Regions from separate parts of the Homo sapiens genome. Here regions 1 and 2 are each linked to region 3. The links are contacts of gene promoters, found by promoter capture Hi-C in human tissues and cell types (Jung and others, 2019). All regions are on one chromosome and are shown on one strand. The core of a region is centred on a gene start or on the middle of the fragment in contact, and the rest is flanking DNA. Distances in the headings are between cores, read along the strand shown.

What was found. Contacts are between HindIII fragments. The study calls those that stand out against the background at their distance.
Region 1: a contact is called between a fragment that was not itself captured here and the fragment with the promoter of RHOT2 in region 3, in 1 of the 25 tissues and cell types used here (spleen).
Region 2: a fragment that was not itself captured here is called in contact with the fragment with the promoter of RHOT2 in region 3 in 4 of the 25 tissues and cell types used here (IMR-90 fibroblasts, dorsolateral prefrontal cortex, lymphoblastoid cells and 1 more).

What each region holds. Positions count from the first base shown.
Region 1 is chr16:1,928,724-1,932,897 of GRCh38, reverse strand. No RefSeq gene overlaps it. Among named protein-coding and RNA genes, the nearest start is that of MSRB1, 12 kb to the left of the region's middle. The HindIII fragment of the contact is 5,872 bases long and covers 1-4,174 here.
Region 2 is chr16:1,683,039-1,687,535 of GRCh38, reverse strand. It overlaps JPT2 (Jupiter microtubule associated homolog 2), which reads right to left. Exons shown (of 5, transcript NM_144570.3): 2 at 1,949-2,097. Among named protein-coding and RNA genes, the nearest start is that of JPT2, 7.0 kb to the right of the region's middle. The HindIII fragment of the contact is 5,684 bases long and covers 1-4,497 here.
Region 3 is chr16:666,882-669,409 of GRCh38, reverse strand. It overlaps RHOT2 (ras homolog family member T2), which reads right to left and starts at 1,278. Exons shown (of 19, transcript NM_138769.3): 1 at 1,174-1,278; 2 at 999-1,057; 3 at 841-922; 4 at 711-754. The coding sequence starts at 1,210. It overlaps WDR90 (WD repeat domain 90), which reads right to left. Exons shown (of 41, transcript NM_145294.5): 40 at 2,421-2,505; 41 at 1,580-1,978. The coding sequence ends at 1,821. RefSeq lists silencers at 811-900, 1,001-1,100, 1,161-1,500 and an enhancer at 886-1,567. The HindIII fragment of the contact is 52,780 bases long and covers 1-2,528 here.

The DNA of each region.
Region 1 (4,174 bases), core at 1,095-3,594, 1.3 Mb before region 3:
GCCCGCTCTGGGGCTGCCCTGGCCACCCAGTGTCTTCGTTGGCTCTCGGGCACTGTCCTAGCCCAGCCTGTGGCCTGCCCACCCCCTAGTCCAGCAGGTGAGAGCAGGCCCGCTGCAGCGACTGACCCCAGTGCAGCAGGTACTCTCCTTAGCCTCATTCTTCTGGGGAGACAAGGGGGACTCAGAGAACGCGATTAGTCTGAGGCCACACAGCTGGGAGAAGCCCTGTGTCCTCTGCCGCCAGGGACCTGAGCCACTCCAGGCCACATGTGGCCGGCTGCCAGTGGCCTCTGATCAGGGTCCTTGTCCTGCCATGCTGAGTCATTTGGTGATGGCGGGTCTGGCAGGGGGTGCACAGGGCTCCCAATACTGTTCTAGGCAGCCAGTTCAGGTCCTCTATGCCCACACCTGTCCCTTTCTGCTTCTCCCTGCAGGAGGAGCAGTGGCTCTGGGAAGGGCTCTGTGGGCAGGTCCTGTGGAAGGCGGCTCTGCTGCGGCAGGGAGGGAGCTGCTGAATGGGCAGCAGGCTTCCCAGGCACAGGGCCAGGCAGGGGCCTGGGCTGTGCTGCCTTCTCCCAGCACTCCCAGCTCTGCACCTGGGGCCAGTGTTTCCCCGAGAGTGGACTCAGGCCCAAGAGCAGACTGGCCTTCGCCTGCAAACTGGGCCCCTGTGTGCAGGGTTTTGTCCCCAGGGCTGTCTACCAGGCTCAGGCCGGTAGCTGGGTGGCTGGAGGCCTGCTGGCGCCTGGGGATCTCAGCCACAGCAGTGCAGGGGTGGTGATCCTGGTGGGGGCTGGGGAGTAGTGCCTCCTGCCTGCATCCCAGGGCCCCAGGCTCATCCAAACATCCATGTTAAGGTGGTGGGCCGGACACAGTGGCTCACGCCTGTAATCCCAGCACTTTGGGAGGCCGAGGCAGGTGGATCACCTGAGGTTATGAGTTCTAGACCAGCCTGACCAACATGGAGAAACCCCATCTCTACTAAAATACAGAATTACCCGGATTACCCGGGCGTGGTGACCCATGCCTGTAATCCCAGCTGAAGGGGAGGACTGCCCCTCCACACCTGTGGGTATTTCCAGTCGGGTGGGACGAGAGACTGAGAAAAGAAATAAGACACAGAGACAAAGTATAGAGAAACAACAGTGGGCCCAGGGGACCGGCGCTCAGCATACTAAGGACCTGCACTGGCACCGGTCTCTGAGTTCCCTCAGTTTTTATTGATTATTATTTTCGTTATTTCAGTAAAAAGGAATGTAGTAGGAGAGCAGGATGATCATAAGGAGAAGGTCAGCAAAAAACATGTGAACAAAAGAATCTATATCATAATTAAGTTCAAGGGAAGGTACTATGCCTGGATGTGCACGTAGGCCAGATTTATGTTTCTCTCCACCCAAACATCTCAGCAGAGTAAAGAATAACAAGGCAGCATTACTGCAAACATGTCTCACCTCCCACCATAGGGTGGTTTTTCTCCTATCTCAGAACTGAACAAATGTACAATTGGGTTTTATACCGAGACATTCAGTTCCCAGGGGCAGGCAGGAGACAGTGGCCTTCCTCTATCTCAACTACAAGAGGCTTTCCTCTTTGACTAATCCACCTCAGCACAGACCCTTTACAGGTGTCGGGCTCGGGGACGGTCAGGTCTTTCTCATACCACGAGGCCATATTTCAGACTATCACATGGGGAGAAACCTTGGACAATACCCTGCTTTCAAGGGCAGAGGTCCCTGCAGCTTTCCACAGTGCATTGTGCCCCTGGTTTATTGAGACTGGAGAATGGCAATGACTTTTACCAAGTATACTGCTTGTAAGCATTTTGTTAACAAGGCACGTCCTGCACAGCCCTACATCCCTTAAACCTTGATTTCATACAGCACATGTTTTTGTGAGCTCCAGATTGGATCAAAGTGGTTGGGTCAAAGTGGCTGGGGCAAAGCTACAAATTAACAACATCTCAGCAAAGCAATTATTTAAAGTACAGGTCTTTTTCAAATGGAGTCTCTTATGTCTTCCCTTTCTACATAGACACAGTAACAGTCTGATCTCTCTTTCTTTTCCCTACACCAGCTACTCGGGAGGCTGAGGCAGGAGAATCGCTTGAACCTGGGAGGCTCAGGCTCAGCCTGGGAGGCTGAGGCTCAGGGAGGTTGTGGTGAGCCGAGATGACACCATTGTACTCCAGCCTGGGCAACAAGAGCAAATCTCCGTCTCAGGAAAAAAAAAAAAAAAAAGATGTGGTAGGGAGGTGGGGGTGGGAGGGGGCAAGTGGGCTCAGGAGGTGGGGGGGGTGCCGGCAAGCAGACTGCTTGAGTGGGGAGACGGGTGAACCGCAGGACCCCAAGGCCCCCTCACATTGAGAGTCCAGGGAGGGATGGCTGTGGGCAAGGTCTGTATGCCAGGTCACCGGAGGAGGGGGTGGTGTTTCCAGCAATGGAGCGTCTGGTGTGGAATCAGTCACCTTACCCTCCCGCTCCTGCTGGGTGATACCCCATCCTTGCGGCTGCCCCCGCGTCTTCCTTGAGGAACAGCAGACTCTGAGGGGGCAGCCCCTTCCTCCCCAGGGCACGGCCTTGCCCCTCAAGGGTTGGGTTCAGGGGCAGCGGGCAGGCCTGGGCACGGCTGGGCCGTCACCTCGGGCGAGGGATGGGGAATAAAAAGGAACTCTGTCTGAGACACCGTGATCCCTCGCCGGGGCCCAGGCCTGGCTCAGAGCAGCCACCAGGAAGCGTCTGCGGCCCGTATGGGGGAACAGACCATACTTCAGACCCTTGCTCAACCACCGCTTTCCGCTCTCTCAGTGGCAGGTGCCGCGCAGAGCCTGGCCCTGGTGGGGCTGTGGCCCCTGGTGGGGGTGGGGGCCGTGGGCAGCTCCCGGGAGGCTCCTACCCGCGGACGGGTCGGCAGGTGGGAGGAGGGGGCGTCCGGTAGGGTCGGCGAAGGCGCCGAGGCCACGTGCAAGCCCCGGCCCTCGAGGCGGCCTCCCGGGCCCGGGCGCGGGACCGTGCGCAGGACTGACCAGCAGGGGGCACGCTCGCTCGGTGCTGCCAGGCCGGGTGGTCTGCGTGCGCAGGCGCGGCGGGGGGCCTGACGGCGCTGCAGTTCCCCGGGTGGCCGCGGGGGTTGCGGCGGAGGCAGCGAGCGTCCGCGCAGAGAAACCGCCTCGGCCACGCCCGCCCTTGGGCCGGTGCTGGGGACCCAGGCCGAGGCCTCTGGTCGTCTGAGGGTGCCAGGGGCAGCTGCAGGGGGTTTGCCGGGCTTCACGAAGTGACCGCTACAGGGAGTGCAGTCGCAGCCACGGGTGCCCCTTCCAGGGTCACCGGAGGACAGAGCCAGGGGCGGGGGCGGGGGTGGCGCGGCCGGTGGGAACGGCAGGCGTGGTTGGGGGCGCGGGTGGAGGCAGGACGCCCCCAGCCCCTTCTTCAGGGCAGCTGCGTGGGACCCAGGCTGCCCGGACCTGGCCCGCCCTCAGGGCTAGATCCTAGGGTTCCACATCCCAGGCCTCTTTCCTCCGCCCACCTCTCCCCGCTACAACCCAGGCAGCTCCTGGCTGCCTTCCCCCAACCAGAGTCCTCTCTGCAAAATAATAACCAGACCAGGTCCCTCCCTCAGAGGTTCCCACAGTCCTTGCCTGCTCTGACCTAGGCTGACCCCACCTCTCCAGCTTGATTTCCTACTCCATAAATGAGATCGGTGTTGTTTATCATAATTACAGTTTGGGGTTGTTTCTTTTTTTTTTTTTTTTTGAGACGGAGTCTGGCACTGCCGCCCAGGCTGGAGTGCAGTGGCGCGATCTCGGCTCACTGCAAGCTCCGCCTCCCGGGTTCACGCCATTCTCGTGCCTCAGCCTCCCGAGTAGCTGGGACTACAGGCGCCCACCACTGCGCCCGGCTAATTTTTTTGTATTTTTGGTAGAGCCGGGGTTTCACTGTGTTAGCCAGGATGGTCTCGATCTCCTGACCTCATGATCCGCCCAGCAGGGCCTCCCAAAGTGCTGGGATTACAGGCATGAGCTACCGCGCCGGGCCTGGTTGTTTCTTCTTGAGAAGGGGGTTTCTCTGTTGCCTGGGCTGGAGTGCAGTGGCATGACCATGGATCACTGCAGCCTTGAATTCCTGGACTCAAGCGATCCTCCCAGGTCAACCTCCCGAATAGCTAGGACTACAGGTGT
Region 2 (4,497 bases), core at 1,475-3,974, 1.0 Mb before region 3:
TGACTCTGCTGAGTAGGGGCCAAATGAGCAGATTCATACACCTGGAAATGGCTCAGATAGGATTCTATCTTGCATGCGATATATTATTCTGCTATCCTTGCTAAAAAGGACATGCAGGAGTCCCTGGGCCTAAATTCATAAACCGGAAACAACGAGAATGTTAGTCACTTAATAAGAAACACTCATTTCTCTAACAACCAAAAAAGCAACCAAACAGACCAAAAAAAGGCAAGCAGCAAACCTAGCTTCGGCCGGGCACAAGGGTGCATGTCTGTAATCTCAGCAATTTGAGAGGCCGAGGTGGGCAGATGGCTTGAGCCCAGGAGTTCGAGACCAGCCTAGGCAACATGGTTAAACCCTGTCTCCACAAAAAATACAAAAAAAAATTACCTAAGCATGGTGGCATACGCCCGTAGTCCCAGCCACTCAGGAGGCTGAGGAAAAAGGGTCACCTGAGCCTGGGAAGTCAAGGCTGCAGTGAGTCATGGTGGTGACACTGCACTCCAGCCTGGGCGACAGAGTGAGACCCCGTCTCAAAACAGACTAAAAACAAAAGAAAAAACTAGTTTCTGGATCTACTGCTTTTTTTCCTCTACATTTGGTCAATAAATATTGGTACCCCAAAACGGAGTGAGGTCGGGAGTGGATCTGGCTCTGATTCATGACCTGCCTGACACAGTGACACCTAAGCACGGCCTCTCAAACCTTCTAAGGATGGAAGAGACCATGCTTTCCCCTCTTGTACAGACGGGGGAAAGCGACTCAGGTAACCTCCACTGGGTGGTTATTCAACTGGACAGTCTATCAGCCAAGAGAAACCTTTTTCTATTTTTTTTTTTTTTTCTTTTTGAGATGGAGTCTAGCTGTCACCCAGGCTGGAGTGCAGTGGCATGAATTTGGCTCACTGCCACCTCCACCTCCCGGGTTCAAGTGATTCTCCTGCCTCAGCCTCCTGAGTAGCTGGGATTATAGGCGTGCACCACCACACCCAGCTAATTTTTGTATTTTTAGTACAGATGGAGTTTTGCCATGTCGGCCAGGCTGGTCTCAAACTCTTGACCTCATGATCACCTGCCTTGGCCTCCCAAAGTGCTAGGATTACAGGCATGAGCCACCACGCCCGGCTGAGAAACCTTTTTCTTTTTCTTTTTCTTTTTTTTTTTGAGACGGAGTCTCGCTCTGTCACCCAGGCTAGAATGCAGTGGTGCGATCCCGGCTCACTGCAAGCTCCGCCTCCTGGGTTCATGCCATTCTCCTGCCTCAGCCTCCTGAGTAGCTGGGACTACAGGTGCCCGCCACCACGCCCGGCTAATTTTTTTTCTTTTTTAGTAGAGATGGGGTTTCACTGTGTTAGCCAGGATGGTCTCGATCTCCTGACCTCGTGATCTGCACACCTTGGCCTCCCAAAGTGCTGGGATTACAGGCATGAGCCACCGCGCCTGGCCAAGAAACCTTTTTCAAAGAGTCCCTCCTACTGTAACCACTAGGAGGTTGGGTAAATACTGAAGAACTATGTAGATGTGTGCTAGATCAATTCTTCCTTGTTAAGAGTTTCAATCCCACTGACGATCTGAATAAAAACACTCTCCCTCCCTAGGAAAAATGTTTAAATGCACAATAATTTGCACGCAATTTCAGGAATCTCATGGGGGTCCGTGGAACAATTGGGAGCAGCTCCCTGGCAGGAACCAGAAGCCCCCGTCCACTTTTGTGTCCTCAGTGCCTGTATTCAACCAAAGTCTCCAGAACAGATGGAGAATTCAAGACTACTCAAGTCACCTTCAAGAGAGAAAGTACAAATCAGAACGTTTTCATTTTGGAAGAACTCTGATAACAAGTGATTACCTGAACCAGACAATATGGGAAAGGATCAGTATAAAGAAACAGAAAATATTTTCAAAAGAGAATCGTGGAGGCCAAAGGATTAAGGATTTCCAAAGGCCCATACCTGGGGGATTTGTCCTCTTGGGTATGTTCTGAGGTTCTTCTGTTGGTCCAAAAATATTAGATGCCATCCTATTAGGCCTGCTGGAAGGAGTAGCTTCTTCTGGACTTCCAAAAAGATTGCTCGATTCTCCTCCTGGGGGCTTCATGGCCCTACAAGCACAGAGTACATGCCAATTACTGATGGCAGACCTGAAAGCTTGTCACTGTGCAAGGATTTTGGCACAACTAGACAGGGTAAAAGTATTTTGTTTTTTTCTTTTTGAGACAAGGTCTCATTCTGTCACCCAGGCTGGAGCGCAGTGACGTGATTTTGGCTCACTGCAACCTCTGCCTCCTGGGCTCAAGTGATCCTCCCACCTCAGCCTCCTGAGTAGCTGGGATTACAGGCACCCACCACCACAGCTGGCTAATTTTTTGTATTTTTGGTAGAGACAGGGTTTTGCCATGTTGCCAAAGTTGGTCTTGAACCCCTAAGCTCAAGTGATCTGCCCACCTTGGCGTCCCAAAGTGCTGTGATTACAGGTATGAGCCACCATACCCAGCAAAAGTATTTTCTTAACATCTACTGAGAAATCACATACCACCATTAGTTAATACTGGTATGACTAGTTTACAGACGCCAGACTACTTCTGCTGCTCTTTAGTTTCCCTTAAAAGTATTCTTTTTTTTTTTTTTTTGAGATGGAGTCTCGCTCTGTCGCCCAGGCTGGAGTGCAGTGGCACGATCTCAGCTCACTGCAACCTCTGCCTCCTGGGTTCAAGTGATTCTCCAGCCTCAGTCTCCTGAGTAGCTCAGATTACAGGTGCCTGCCACAACACCTGGCTAACTTTTGTTTGTTTTTTTTGAGACGGAGTTTTACTCTTGTTGCCCAGGCTGGAGGAATGCAATGGCGCAATCTCAGCTCACCACAACCTCCGCCTCCTGGGTTCAAGCAATTCTTCTGCCTCAGCCTCCCACGTAGCTAGGATTACAGGTATGCGCCACCACACCCAGCTAATTTTGTATTTTTAGTAGAGACGGGGTTTCGCCATGTTGGTCAGGTTGGTCTCGAACTCCTGACCTGGGGTGATCCACCTGCCTCGGCCTCCCAAAGTGCTGGGATTACAGGTGTGGGCCATCGCACCTGGCTCTTGAATCACTTTTTATTGTAAAAACTTAAACTTAAGAACTAATAAGGAATTGCCACAAAGCTCTATTTCTAGAGCACTATCTACATTAAAAACCGGTGAAACGCTGAATTCATAACAACTGGAAAAACTTTTAAATGCATTTGAGAGAGAGGCTTACTGAAATTGAGATTTAAACCAGTGAGTGGCACATGCTCTCTCACTAGTCCTAAGCAATGGGACTGTCTGTGATCCCAGACGTTTAGAAACGAAGTCAGCCCTCTGTATCCACGGGCTCTGCTTCCATGGATTCAACCAACCTCAGATCAAAATGTCAGAAATAAAAGGATGGTTGCATCTGTACTGAACATCTACAGACTTCTTTTCTGTCATTATTCCCCAGGTGATACGGTGTAACAACTATGTGCATAGTATTAGGTATTATATGTAACCTTGTAACCTAGAGATGATTTAAAAGCATATGGAGGATGTGCATAGGTTATATGCAAACATTACACCACTTTATATCAAGGACTTACACATCCTTGGATTTTGGCATCCTGGGGGTCCTGGAACCAACTCCCGCAGGATACCAAGGATGACCATACTTGAAATTACAGGGCTCAACATCACACAAAAACTATGATATGAGGTTAGATCTCACTGGAAAGCTTTGCAAACACTGACCACTCAAGGTTTGGTTAACAAAAATAACAGTTTCTCCTCAAAAGATCTAGAAAGAGCGCTGAGGGCTCCTTGTGACTGGATGTGAATGGAGTTCTCAGATCTCCTGCTATAAAGCAGGAAGGCAGAGAGTGCTTCAGTCTCCGCCTGCAGAGACCCACGGGCTGGCTACTGTACCCCAGAAACCAAGCGTGTGCTGGCCGACCTCTGAAGTGGTGCCCAGGGCCCCTGTCCACTCAGGAGGCTGGGGGAGGTGGATGCCAAACTTCCTGTCAGCAGTTGCCATTTCCTGGAGGATTTGAGGAGGGAGAAAAAAAAAGACAGGTGCACTTAAGAAAAATTATTTTTTAAAAATAACCAATAACCAAGCTTAAATGAGAAAGGGCTGTCCGGGAGCAGTACCTGGCACCTGTAATCCCAGCACCTTGGGAGGCCGAGGTGGGAGGACTGTTTGAGCCCAGGAGTTCGAGACACGCCTGGGCATATGGGGAGACCCTGTCTCTACAAAAAATACAAAAATAAGGCCAGGCGTGGTGGCTCACGCCTGTAATCCCAGCACCTTGGGAGGCCGAGGTGGGCGGATCACGAGGTCAGGAGATCGAGACCATCCTGGCTAACACGGTGAAATCCCGTCTCTACTAAAAATACAAAAAATTAGCCGGGCGTGGTGGCGGACGCCTGTAGTCCCAGCTACTCAGGAGGCTGGGGCAGGAGAATGGCGTGAACCCGGGAGGCGGAGCTTGCAGTGAACCAAGATGC
Region 3 (2,528 bases), core at 29-2,528:
AGCCTTCCCTAAAACCTGCCTCCAGCCTGGTGTTGGCAGAGCAGGCACTCCCCAGTGTCACACTGGGAGCTGCTGCTGAACCCTCAGAGAAGCCTCTTCCCCGCCCACTGCCAGTGCAGGGACACCAGGCCCCAGAAGCATAACTGTGGTCAGCAAGACCCTTGGAGCAGAGGGCTCAGGACAGACACGGCCACACCTGCAACCCAACACCCTGCAAGACAGCCGCCGCCTTGGCCCCTGCCTCCCCCCTCGCTACAGACAGAGTGACAGGACCGCAGTGAGGGGTGCCAACAGCAGGGGCTGCCCTGGGTGGCTGTGGCCTGTGCCCTTGCCTGGAGATGTCCCCGGCACACGTGCTCTGGTACTGGGAGCTCCGGGTGCCCGGAGGCCGGGACGGTGGGCTGGAGCACACAGCACGGGGACGTGGCGCACACAGAGCCCACAGGAAGAGCAAACGCTGCTGCCACCCCGGCAGGAGGGAGGGAGAGCCCGCGGGGAAGGGTCCTGTTATCCCTGGAGCACCACTGGACTGAGCGGTGCCGGCTCCCAGCGGGGTGCGCTGTAGGGGCCCCGACAACCCTCAGTGCGGAGGTCACAGAATTATCAGGGCCAAGGACACCCGGAGCACCTCGGTCCAATCCCCCAGGCTGCGAAGCGGATTAGGCCGAGCCCGCGCCCAGCCCCTCCCTCGTCCCGCGCACCACGGGTACCTTGTGGATCTCCTCCCGCAGCTCCTCGTCCGTCTGCTCGGCTTCTAGGGGGACAAAGAGACTCCACTGCGGACCCAGCAGGCCCGCCGGACCGCTGCGGGCCGGGCCCCCGGGAGGCTACGGCCGCTACCTGAGTAGTCCACGATGTGGGTGGGCACCTTCTCCGGGGTGACGTCCGCGGGGATGGTGATCTCCTCCGCGCGGGGAGGGACCTGCAAGGGACCCGCGCGCTCACCAGGGACCCCCGGCTGGGCCCGCTCCCACCCCCGCGGCGGGCGTGCCCCTTACCTCCTCGGGGAACTCCTCGCCCACCAGGGACAGGATCAGCGACGTCTTCCCCACCTGGGCTGCGCGGGGCGAGGCGGTCAGCGCGAGGGCCAAGGTCACGGCGCCCCCCGACCCCCGAGACCCTCACCCCGCCTCACGGCCGCCGCAGCTCCGAGACCCCCGGGCCGGCGCCTACCCTCGCCCAGTAACAGGATGCGCACGTCCCGCCTCATAGCTGCCGCCCGGAGCCGCTCCCCGACCCGGAACCCGGCCCCGACCTGGTCCTCAAGCCTTTCGCTCTGCCCCCGCGCCCGCCCCGCACTTCCGGTTCTCGGCCCCGCGCTGTCCCCACACTTCCGGCCCCGCCCGCACAGCCGCACCAGCGAGCCGGGCGGGCCAGAGCGGACAGGCTGTGCGGCGCGCCACCGTGTGGACGCGCCGGCCACGGCGGACAGCGCAGGGTCCTGGCGCCCTGGCAGGCCGAGCGGCCATTGCTTCACGGCACCACAGGGGCCTTGACAAACAGCCGATTAAGGGACGGGCAGAGGCTGAGCTCAGGCCAGGAGTGACCAGAGACAGCCAGTGCAACAATGCAGCAATAATGCAATAAATGCCCATGTTTATTACAAGATAGAAACATTAAAGATTTCTTAGGCAAAAGGGCAACAGGTATGAAAGTATTCACAGGGCGCCAAATTTACAACAGCTTGCTCCAGGCGATTTACGTGAATCCTGGCCTGTCCCAGCATGAGGCCATTGACAACCTGGCGCCTCTGCCAAGCCTGTGTCCAGGTGCCTGGCATGACCAGGCGTGATGCCCACCACCACAGTCCCTGCTGCATCTCAGAGGCCGGGGACCTCCCACACAAGGATCTCGTTGCGGGCGGCCGTGAAGAGCAGCCTGGCGGACGGTGTAAACCTGCACAGGTGCACTGCGTTGTCGTGGCCGGCAAAGTCTTGGGCAGTCCCCATGGCACAGTCTACCAGCCTCAGCATGCACTCTGTGGGTAGACGGTGCAGGTGGGCCAGGGCCAGGACCAGGCAGCACTCAGAGGGCTCCCCCAACCCACCCAGACTGTCCCCACTGGGCATGATGCTGGTCGGGGGAGCTGGTGCTAAAAGGGCTCCTGGCTGTGCCCTCCACGTGCCACTGGGACTAGGGGGTCCATCACTGCCAGGCTGTCGGCCTGCAGCTGGGCCAGTTCCCTCCTTAAAAGTCGCTGCCACCCGTGCATTCAGGCCCTGTGCTGGGCGCTGTGCCTGGTTCCTCACCTGCCTCATCATCTCCTGACTCCAGGACCCTCTCTAGGGCAGATGTCCTCACCCCACCCCAGAGACGAGGAGCCCGGGGCACAGGTGAGGCACCTGTCTTGGAACAGGGCACCAGTCAGCCCACTTGGCCCCCACCTAAGACAGGCCCAAACTGCATCCACCAGCACTCACCAGCAAAGCCAACAGCCAGGAGGTGGGTCCCGGGGGACAGGCTCAGGGACATGGCAAAAAAGGGCAGTGGTATCTTCTCCACCACCTGTGAGCAGCCAGCGTGAGGCT